2 separate regions of the Homo sapiens genome follow, and region 1 is linked to region 2. The links are contacts of gene promoters, found by promoter capture Hi-C in blood cells and fetal thymus (Javierre and others, 2016). All regions are on one chromosome and are shown on one strand. The core of a region is centred on a gene start or on the middle of the fragment in contact, and the rest is flanking DNA. Distances in the headings are between cores, read along the strand shown. Region 1 holds the start of PAFAH1B2 (platelet activating factor acetylhydrolase 1b catalytic subunit 2). Region 2 holds the start of MCAM (melanoma cell adhesion molecule).

What was found. Contacts are between HindIII fragments. The CHiCAGO score rates a contact against its expected background, and 5 or more counts as called.
Region 1: the fragment with the promoter of PAFAH1B2 here is called in contact with the fragment with the promoter of MCAM in region 2 in 1 of 17 cell types (activated CD4 T cells); the score reaches 5.4 in activated CD4 T cells.

Annotation. Positions count from the first base shown.
Region 1 is chr11:117,141,140-117,146,461 of GRCh38, forward strand. It overlaps PAFAH1B2 (platelet activating factor acetylhydrolase 1b catalytic subunit 2), which reads left to right and starts at 3,148. Exons shown (of 6, transcript NM_002572.4): 1 at 3,148-3,279. RefSeq lists a silencer at 3,358-3,677 and an enhancer at 4,228-4,407. The HindIII fragment of the contact is 2,379 bases long and covers 2,509-4,887 here.
Region 2 is chr11:119,315,659-119,321,668 of GRCh38, forward strand. It overlaps MCAM (melanoma cell adhesion molecule), which reads right to left and starts at 1,472. Exons shown (of 16, transcript NM_006500.3): 1 at 1,377-1,472. The coding sequence starts at 1,443. RefSeq lists enhancers at 1-158, 3,052-3,101, 5,055-5,680, 5,681-6,010 and silencers at 1,751-1,810, 5,179-5,618. The HindIII fragment of the contact is 17,882 bases long and covers 1-6,010 here.

The DNA of each region.
Region 1 (5,322 bases), core at 1,898-4,397, 2.2 Mb before region 2:
CACAAATTGATAAACGTAATCCATCACATAAACAAAACCAATGACAAAAACCACATGATTATATCAATGCAGAAAAGGCCTTCGACAAAATTCAGCAGCCCTTCATGCTAAAAGCTCGCAATAAACTAGGTATTGATGGAACGTATCTCAAAATAGTAAGAGCTATTTATGACAAACCCACAGCCAATATCATACTGAATGGGCAAAAACGGGAAGCATTCCCTTTGAAAACCAGCACAAGACAAGGATGCCCTCTCTCACCACTCCTATTCAACATAGTGTTGGAGGTTCTGGCCAGGGCAATCAGGCAAGAGAAAGAAATAAAGGGTATTCAATTAGGAAAAGAGGAAGTCAAATTTTCCCTGTTTGCAGATGACATGATTGTATATTTAGAAAACCCCATTGTCTCAGCCCAAGATCTCCTTAAGCTGATAAGCAACTTCAGCAAAGTCTCAGGATACAAAATCAATGTGCAAAAATCACAAGCACTCCTATACACCAATAACAGACAATAACAGAGAGCCAAATCATGAGTGAACTCCCATTCACAATTGCTACAAAGAGAATAAAATACCTAGGAATCCAACTTACAAGGGATGTGAAGGACCTCGTCAAGGAGAACTACAAACCACTGCTCAGTGAAATAAAAGAGGACACAAACAAATGGAAGAACATTCCATGCTCATGGATAGGAAGAATCAGTATTGTGAAAATGGCCATACTGCCCAAGGTAATTTATAGATTCAATGCCATCCCCATCAAGCTACCAAAGACTTTCTTCACAGAATTGGAAAAAACTACTTTAAACTTCATATGGAACCAAAAAAGAGCCCGCATTGCCAAGACAATCCTAAGCAAAAAGAACAAAGCTGGAGGCACCACGCTACCTGACTTCAAACTATACTACAAGGCTACAGTAACCAAAACGGCATGGTACTAGCACCAAAACAGATATATAGACCAACAGAACAGAACAGAGGCCTCAGAAATAACACCACACATCTACAACCATCTGCTCTTTGACAAATTGACAAAAACAAGAAATGGGGAAAGGATTCCCTATTTAATAAATGGTGCCAGGAAAACTGGCTAGCCATATGTAGAAAGCTGAAACTGGATCCCTTCCTTACACCTTATACAAAAATTAATTCAAGATGGAGTAAAGACTTAAATGTTAGACCTAAAACCATAAAAACCCTAGAAGAAAACATAGGCAATACCATTCAGGACATAGGCATGGGCAAAGACTTCCTGACTAAAACACCACAAGCAATGGCAACAAAAGCCAGAATAGACAAATGGGATATAATTAAACTAAAGAGCTTCTGCATGGCAAAAGAAACTACCATCAGAGCGAACAGGCAACCTACAGAATGGGAGAAAATTTTTGCAATCTACCCATCTGACAAAGGGCTAATATCCAGAATCTACAAAGAACTTAAACAAATTTACAAGAAAAAAAACAAACAACCCCATCAAAAAGTGGGCAAAGGATATGAACAGACACTTCTCAAAAGAAGACATTTATGCAACCAACAGACACATGAAAAAATGCTCATCATCACTGGTCATCAGAGAAATGCAAATCAAAACCACAATGAGATACCATCTCATGCCAGTTAGAATGGCGATCATTAAAAAGTCAGGAAACAACAGATGCTGGAGAGGATGTGGAGAAAGAGGAACACTTTTACACTGTTGGAGGGAGTGTAAATTAATTCAACCATTGTGAAAGACAGTGTGGCGATTCCTCAAGGATCTAGAACTAGAAATACCATTTGACCCAGCCATCCCATTACTGGGTATATACCCAAAGGATTATAAATCATGCTGCTATAAAGATACATGCACACGTATGTTTATTGTGGCACTATTCACAATAGCAAAGACTTGGAACCAACCCAAATGTCCATCAATGATAGACTGGATTAAGAAAATGTGGCACATATACACCACGAAATACTATGCAGCTGTAAAAAGGATGAGTTCATATCCTTTGCAGGGACATGGACGAAACTGGAAACCATCATTCTCAGCAAACTATCACAAGGACAGAAAACCAAACACCGCATGTTCTCATAGGTGGGAATTGAACACTGAGAACACTTGGACAAAGGGCGGGGAACATCACACACGGGGGCCTGTCGGGGACTGCGGGGCTGGGGGAGGGATAGCATTAGGAGAAATACGGAATGTAAATGACGAGTTGATGGGTGCAGCAAACCAACATGGCACACGTATACCTATGTAACAAACCTGCACGTTGTGCACATGTACCCTAGAACTTGAATAAAAAAAAAAAAAAAAAAGAAAAATTACTTGACATATCTTGACATTTTAGGCTCCCAGGATTTTACAGTATTCTTAACAGGTTTTGTCAGCAAAATCAACCCCCACCCCCGCATCAGTTTAAGAGCCCTGGAAGGCTCTGCCTATTCACCAGCATAGAGCTGAGATCCTTAAAGGGCCAGTTCAGGGCACTGCTCCAGCAACCGTTGCGCTGCTATAAGCTTGAGCACATCTCTTGCCCCTCCTCTCTACTTTTATAGATCCTGCATTTATTTAGCATATAATCTTTTCAATATTGACTTTGTATATGTATGTCTTCCCCTAAACTGGATGTATCTTTTAAGGAAAAGCCTGGGGTTCGTCATCCCCCTATGTATCACCTTTACAGGCGGTCACCCAAAATCTCCACATTCATCATAGAAACAGAAATTCCACTAATAAATGTCAGGTACTGCCTCCTTAACCTTGGTCCGCTATTTCCCTCCCACTTTCAGCAGTCTGGTTTATTCCATGGGTGGAAGAGGAAGCCAAGTTGGCTGAGTGTGAAGGGAATGGCGTCAGTGTGACTTCACGCCACATCGTCCCGAATGCCAGCTCCACACTGCGGTGGCACGAACGCAGGATTGAGAGATGCAGCTGGAGTAAAGAGAGAAGCCCATGTCCCTCAGACGCCACACAAAATGGGGGTAACCGCGAGAACAAAGCAGGGTACCCAACGGGGTGTGGCGGGACACCTGGGCGCACGCCGCCAGCGCCCGGGAGAGCGAAGGCGGGGAGAGAGGAACCACGCTGAGGCGTGGCAGGATGGGGGCGGGACTTCCGGAAGCCATTTGGCTGAGTGGCAGGGGAACCGGAAGTGGAGGAGCTGCTGCTGGTGCTGGGGCCGGAGGAGGGACGCGCCGGAGCGGGACCGACGGGACCGAGCGAGCGACCGACGCGCCACCCGCCGACGCCTCAGCCGCTTGGGGCCCGCACGGACCCTCTACTTCAGTGAGTGCATCCAGGGTCGCAGGGAACCGGTGGCTTAGAGGCGGGGGTCGGAAGGGGCTGCGAGGTGTTATTGTGAGAGGCCCGCGACCTCCCCTCCCCCACCCTTGCGGCCCCTCCCCCCACGCCGCCCCATCCACTTGGGGGGGGCCTCGCGAGCGCGCGCCTTCTCTGCGGGCCCAGCGTCGGCTTCCCAGCAGCCGGCGCAGCTAGTTTTCGCTCTGAGAGCCCTTTCCCGATATTCCATACCGAAAGCTGGCGTTTCTCCTCAGCCGCCGGCCGGCGCCTCCACGGCCTTTCCCAGGAGGGTAGCGCGGCGGGCGCCCCGCCCCGCCCTGCCCTGCCCTGCCCTGCCGGGCCCACCCGCGGTAGGCCTTGCGCACCCCAGCTCGCCCCGGCTGGGCGCTGCAGCTCCTGCCCGGGTCTCCGCTGCTGCCTTTTCCCTTTATCACAGGGGTCTAACTTCTCACTCTTCTCTCCCCTCGCGTCTGGTCGGAGGCCAAAACCAGTTACTCCGTTGTGTTTTTACCGAGCACTTTTCCCTCCTCCTTTTGTTGAAAAATTTCAACTCTTTAGAAACTTCTCCGTTGCCTCTTAGGATGTGTTTATTCAAAAGTTGCATAGACCGTCACCACTCGGAAGGGATTATTTCTTGGAAGGCTTTCCAGCCCCCATCTCATCTTAGACATGAATGTGCTCGGAGCGGCTGGTGACCTGCCCAAGGTCAGCCAGCTAGATAAACCTGTCAGCGGAGAGGTTTGGGGGGATGTTTTTTTCCTGGCTCACCGTCCGTTTGCCAGATCCGTGCCTTCTGGTCTACAGGTTTGATTGACCCGTTGCGTGGTGACTCATGCTTCTGCTTTTCATAGCTCGCAGGCCAGCGTTGCTTTTCAGAATTTATACACAAACAAGAACTAACACTCGGAGCTTTCGCCTCTTTGTAGAGCTTACCCGTAGAGAAAGGAAAGACCACCCGGATCCACCCTAGGACCTCATTTTGTACAGCTTGAAATTATGGGAAGGGGTTGGGCCGGGGGTAAAGGTGTGGAGAAAGTGGAAGGAGAAAGTGCTTAATTAAGATTGTCTTTGCCTTGGATGTGCCTTGTGTCTTTGGCTTCTTCTGGGCACATTGTTCTGACATAAAGGTTGCCTCCTTGTGGGGGAGAAGGGGAGGATTAGTTTGTTGGCTTGGGCATTTGATCATAAATTATGGAGGTGCTGGACCGGAGGAACCACCCACCAGCCCACGGAGGCTACCGGGCATTCAGGATAAGGGCCGCCTTCTTCTTCAGAATAACCATACCCACTCCCTCTGAAACAAAGTGGAGAGTCTTAGGTCTGAGTGGAAACTCTAAATCTTTTAATTCTTGGTTCAACTTTCTTCATCTGTTTTCCTGGTTCAGACTAAAACATCTAACTCAGCTGGAGAAGTTATAACGCTTTGTTGTTGGACGTGGTTTCTCATTAAATACATTGCACTATGCTGGTATAAGCACTTGGAAATTCTAGTGCTGTATTGTCATAGTAAGTAGAGAATATAGAAAAGGCAGGAAAATCGTGCAAGTCGGTTACTCCTCGTCTTCCCAGAGAACTCACTTTAATGGACAACAAAGCTTCCCCTGGAGTACAGTCTGTTGTGGCAAATTAACAAAACTTGTTCTTCAGACCTTTTATTTGCATTCTGCTTGGTCTTTCTTTCTTTTTTTTTTTTTTTTTTTGTGTGTGTGACGGAGTCTCAGTCTGTCGCCCAGGCTGGAGTGCAGTGGCGCGATCTCTACTCACTACAACCTCTGCCTCCCGGTTCAAGCTTATAGGCATGTGCCACCACACCCAGCTAATTTTGTATTTTTTTTTTTTAGTAGAGACGGGGTTTCGCCACGTTGGCCAGGCAGGTCTTGAACTCCCGACCTCAAGTGATCCACCCGCCTCGGCCTCCCAAAGTGCTGGGATAACAGGCGCAGGAAACCCAAAGTCACTCAGAAGTTTGCGTCTTACCACTGGGTAGCTCTTAGTTCGTTCTTATTTTATGTGTCCATAAGAGCAGAT
Region 2 (6,010 bases), core at 222-2,721:
GTCACCACCGCCAGGGGAAGACACCACTGCTCTATCCTCTGCCCTCCAAAATCCCTGCCCTCACTCCCCAGCGGGCTAACTCTGGCGGAAGTTCCGGTCTCATGCTCCCTCAGCAGCACCTCCATGAACACTCCGCACACACCCGCGGACCCCACCCTAGGTAGCTGGTAAGGATGGAGAGGTCAGAGTCTCCCCCAGGGGTCAGGGCAAGGGCCAGGCAGTGGGCAGGAGTGACGTCAGTGGTGCCAGCGTGCTGCCAGCCCTGTGAGGAGGTGATGTCACTCGACACCATCTGCCTGGGCTCTGGGATGCCTGGGTTGTTACCTTGGCTCTCGGACAAGGAGGGCAGGTGGAAGGTGGGGTCTCCAACCCAGAGCCTCAGACCCCTGACTCCTCCCAGAGCTAGAAGAGCAGGGCAGGGTGGAGCTGGACCGGCTGCAACTGTGGAGCCCGATTTAGCCCTTTCCCCAGAAATAAAGTCAGCCTGGGAGGCAGTAGCCTGGAATACCCCAGGGACATGGTTGGCACTGGGCATGAGGCCAGCGAGCTGGGTATTGCCTAGCCCTCCCCTTCCCCAGCCGGACAGCGGCTGGGACGGCGGAATGGGAGCCAAGAGAAACACGCGACACCGCTGCGGGCCATACAAGGGCAGCGTGGACCCGAGAGCGCCCTGCTACCAGGCGGATCCGGAGAAACGCTCCGAGGTGCCCGGGCGCACTTCCCACCTGAATGTGGTCCCCAAAATAAGCCAGCGGGCGCTTCCAGTATGGGAATCCTCCATCCCTCATCTCTGTCCCCTATGATCCCATCACTCGGGGAGGCGCGAGGCGACCCACACCGCCCCGCAACCCCTGCCAACGCCCAGCTCGGGCGGGAGCCGCCGAACCTCCCGCTCTCGCTCACCTCCAGCCTGGCGTGATGCCCAGGCAGAAGGGGGAAGGGGTGGGTCGGCGCACCCCCTCCAGCGAAGGAAGCTGCCTTTTCCAGCAACAGGCGGGCGCGGAATTCAGGCTTTGAGGATGCGCCCCAGCTGCGCCTCCTGCCCGGCTTCAATTGCGGGCCCCCAGAGTGAGCACCTCAGGGACCACCCACCCCCCAGCACCCCGAAAGGCTGAGCTCCACCCCTTCTCGTTCCCAGAAGCAGCCTCCTCCCCGCCTTCCGAGTGCTGCTCCCGGGATACTCTAGAATCCCGGCTGCAAACTGGCTGCAAAGAAGAGTTGCTCGCGCGCAAGGCGCCCGGGGATCGGGGACCCAGGGAGGAGGCTCGTCCTCCCAGACGCAACGCCCCGACCCCGCCGCGCCGCTGGCTCTGCTCCCTGGCACGCTCCACCGCAGACCCCTAGCCGGGGCGCGGCCCCCCTGCGAGCGAACTCACCCGCGACGCGAGGACAGCAGCAGCAGGCGGCGAGCAAGAAGGCGCAGACCAGCCTGGGAAGCCCCATGCTTCCCGGCCGGAGGGCGAGAGCCAAGTGAGCAGCTCGAGGCTGCCGGGGGCTGACGTCAGGGGGGCGGGGGAGGGGGCCCGGAGCGCCCGGGCCCGCCCCGCCCCGCGCAGCCCCCAGCCCCCGCCCCGCGCGCCGCAGCCCTAGGGGGCGGGCCCCGGCGCCGCCAGCCCGGGAGCTGCGCCTAGGAGCGCTGCCGGAGGTAGGCCAGAGCCGGACTCCCAGGCTCCTGGCTTGGGAAGGCTGAGGGGGTAGTGACAGGTGTCTCGGGGTCTGACTGGCCGAGGTGGCAGCGAGGAGAAGCTGTCCCGGATGCCCGGAGTCGCCCCGGGTCGAAGCCAGCCAGGCTCACCGCTGCTCAGCCCCTGCCAGCCAATGTAGCCCCTAGGGGACCTCCTGGGGGAGGAGCAGTAGCGGACCTGGTCCTCGGTGTCCCCAAGGGGCCTCCCACTTGGGCTCCCCTCCCTTGCCACAGAGAATTCAGGCCGGCCTCTATCGCTTCCCAGAACGATTGCACCACTGCCGCTGCCGCCGGCCTGACACTGCCTCAGCCTCAGTGCTGGCAGCTTTGGGAGAAGAACCCTGCGCCAGTCCCACAGACCCAGAAGTACCTGTATGGGGAGTGCAGACGATGCCTTCTGGGCTGTCCCTTCAAACGCAAGCTCCTGCAAGTCTAGCCTTTGACCAGAGAAAGGAAGGAGGGGGCTGAATTCGCAGGCCCAAGGTGTTCACACTTGTCCAGACCTGGGCCTTGAGAATCATGTTTCTTCCCTCTTCACTCTGGAGCCTACCCTGGAACTCAGTTTCCCCTCACCTAAGAGAAAGAAACAGGGAGAAGAAAGAGTTAATGGGCGAGGGTCCCCAGCCTGACCCTGCAAACCTGTTGCTGTTCCTGATGATTGAAAGGATCCCGGCAGCGCTGATCTTCCCCCACCCCATGTCTTCCCCAGCCCTATTGATTGTGGGTCCATAGCTGAGGGAAGAATCAAATCAGACCTGCTTGGGTGGGGAGCTCTGCAGCTCCCCTTCTCCCAAAACGCCGGCTTCTCCCTGGGTCTTCTGGCCTCTTGAACTAAGGCTCTAGGGAGGGGGAGGTGCTCTTGCCTCACTCTGACCCCAGCAGCCTGGCCTCAGAAAAGGGGTCCACATCTGCTGGCGCGCCTCCACCAGGGAGTGCCAAATAGGGGCCTGGATTTGGGTAGAGGTCTGTTGCCCAGCGGGGCCACCCCTTTGCTCGCTGGGGGAGGTGGAGGGTGAGCCAGCAAACCCTGGAGATGGCCAGGTGACTTGAGAGCATGCTCCGGGGTGGCGTTTTGATGACGCAGAGATGACTGGAAAACCACACCAGGCTTGTCTTTCAGAGCCTTCTCGACCCCTCCTCCAATGCCATTAGTCTCCAGCCAGAGGCTGTGCAGAGCCCAGGCCCACCGGGCCAGGGGCCTGGAGCCTGGAGCCTGCAGGGAGAACAAGAGGAGGACGCTGGCTCGCCCTCCAGAGTGAATGTATGGACTGGCCCCAGGCCCAGAGCTGACTAGATGAGAATGTTTTGTCTGCTGGGCTGGAGTGGGAATGGCTGAAGGATGCCGTTTGCCCTGGCAGGCCCGGCTGGGCATGGAGCTGGCTTCCCTGCCCAACCCCCTTCCTTCACTTAACACCATTAACTAATCATTCGCCTCTCTGGCCTGAAAACAAAGCCAGCTAACCACCAAGGACAGTCAGTTCTGAATTCTTCTTCCGCTGGAGGAGAGTGAAGCCAGGTGGGGGTGGAGGATTTGTCTCTGCGGTGAAAGGGAAATGAGGTCAGAGCCTAGAGCCCAGGGTGACGTCCCTTCGCATTGCCCCACCAAACAAGCACAGAAGACTGTCCTTTAAGGAAGCCAGTAGCCTGGGGCTGTCTAGGCTGCTCGGAAGTGGGTCATAGCCTCAGGGGACAGATAGCTTTGGGATGGTTTCATGAGGTGGGCACTTTGGGATTCCAAACTAAAGACGGGTCAGGACCTCGGAAAGGACGCAGGAGTGGAGGCAGGGAGCAGGGTGGAGGGAGCGGAAGGTGAAGGGGATCAGCCCTCAGCTCTTCTTAGAGGCCAGAGGCTAGTGCTCCGGCAGCCCCAGGGGAGAGAAGGTGGCTGCGGGACTTCCAGCAGGACAGGAGTGACAGCCAGCAGAAGGGAGTTGGAGGAGGAGGCCACGGCCGTCTACCCTGCAGGGACCCAGCACCTGGACTGGGTTGGAAGAGCCTGGCTCAGATGTAGGCCAGGGCCAGAAGAGGCCCTGGGGGCAGAGTCCTAATTCTTCTTTTTTCCCTCGTTGGGTTGCAGGCAAGAAGGCTGCTTTCCTCCAGCCCCATGGTGGACCTGGGCCCCTCACACATGAGGGGACCCTCCTGCGCATAATGCCCTCTGCGTGTCTCTGGTATAGGTCTGACCACAGGTGGAGAAACTGAGGCCAGGTGGGGTGGGGGTCCTGGTTGGGCTCCTCAGCCACAGTCTCCTGGATGGGTGGAGCTTTCAGCTCATTGTAAGGAGAAGTGGAACCCTGGGGAGTTGGAGGTAAAAAGACAAGGATGGACCTGTCCCCAGAGGCCATGAAGGGGCAAGACTGGAACCCAAGTGTCCTCTCTCAGCTCCAGCAAAGGGAACTTAGCGACTTCTGACCCACCCTTCTGGATCCAGGGGCCTTGACCAGGATGTGAGGATATGAGAAGGGTGGGTCAGAAGTAGCTCGAGGAAGGAAGCTGATAAAGAGGTGTTTGCAGCTGCTGTGAGGACATGGGGTGGGAGTCCCAACAATCTTGGCAGTTACCGAGACTGGGGAACCCCCTGGCCAGGCCAGATAATAGGATCCGGCCTGGGTCTTTGGAGGGGGTGCGGAAGTTGGAGAATTTTTCCAGAATGTGGGTGTGAGTAGGAGAAGATTATACTGAAGGAGTGAAAACAGGGTGGAAAAGGGTAGGGGGCAGGAAACCGGATACTGTACTGGGGGGTGGATGGAAGATGTGGGGGAAGAGATTGAATCGGGGGAAGCAGCCCTGCTCCCGCCGGATGCTGTCTCACCCATGTCCTTCGCACCTGACCCAGGGCAGGAGGAAGGAGGCACAGCCGGGATGGAGGTGCACCCCACACCACCATGGGAGAGAGGGAGGGTGGCCTTCTGCGGGATGGGAGGGGCTATTTTTAAACTTGGAAAAACCGTGAGTTCATCTCCATTCTGGAGGCTGCAAAGGCCCCATTGTACAGGGGTCTAGAGAGGGGGAGCGGGGGGAGGGGGCGACGGGCACAATGGCGAGGATTATGTTGGAGCAGGCAGGGGGGTGGAGGGCGGAGAGCGGGGGAGGGGCTGTCTTCGTCACAGATGGCCTACTGAACTCTGGGGTCGAGCCAGGCTGGGGCTTGAACTGGGGGGCAGGGCCCACCCTCACAAAGATCCCCGTTGGGGAACTGGGGTCTCTGACATCCGGTGGCCCATCCTGGGGAGGGGGCTGACGGTGGGATTCCCACAGCCTGGCTTTCCCAGGGACCGCAGGGTCTGTTCCCAGGCTCCCAGCATTCCGACGACTCCCCTGAGAGCTGCTGGCCTCTTCCCTCAGCCCCTTCCCTGCCAGGGGGTGGGGGGAGAGAAGGAGAAAGAGGATGTGGATGCATCGGGACTCCTCCTGGGGATGATGGACTCTTAAGCCAGAGGCGGGGGTTGGGTGGGCAGCAGTGGGTGGTTAGGGTAGGTTGAGCGGGATCGGAGTCCCCAACCCCGCGGACCCCTCCTCCGACCGACTGGGACTGTCCCTCTCGTACCCCCCGGTCTTAGGAGCCTCCGCACGGGGGCCAGCCCACCTGCCGGACCTCAGGCCTCCGGCACCCAGGGCCTCCACCCAGGGGACCCGGCCGCGGCGGGAAGGCGCCGGCGCTAAGCTCCCCAGGAGCCGGCCTCGAGGTCCCGCCCGGCGGAGGCAGGGGGCGGGGATCCGGCCGCTCGCCCCAACCCAAACATTACCATAAATGCTCAGGCGGCTGCGGGTGGATGGGCGCGCGGGGAGCCTGGGGCTCTCCGGAAGCCCCAGATCCAGTCTCCAGGCCCGACCCAGCGCGAGCCCGCGCAGTGATTCGGTCTGACCAGCCGTCCCCTTTACAAAGCGGTGCAGCCGGGGATGGCAGAGCTGGGGTGGGCGCGGGGACAGGGTGGAGAAAACCCAGGCCGCAGGGGGCGTCTCGGGGCTGCCTCCTGGGTAGGCAATGAGGCTGTGACCTCTGGTTAAAGAAAGAGTGGGGCCCTCTAGCTAGATGGCAGCGTCGGCGCCGCGGGGAGGCGGCTCTGTCTCCCTGCAGCTCTGCGGGCCCCGCTGCTGTCAGCGGTGACACCCTGGGTCTCGGTTCCCCGGCCCCAGCACCTAATCCCCTTCCCTCTCCTCTGCCCCCAGCCTGCACCTGGGGAATGAAGGGTGATGGGGGCGGAGGGTGGTAGCAGGATGCTGGGAGTTTACACCTCTCCCCTTCAGGGAAGTTCACATCCGCTCCCCAGAATACCACCATCCAGGGAGAGGAATGTCCCCAGAGAGCTCTTCAAATCTGACTTT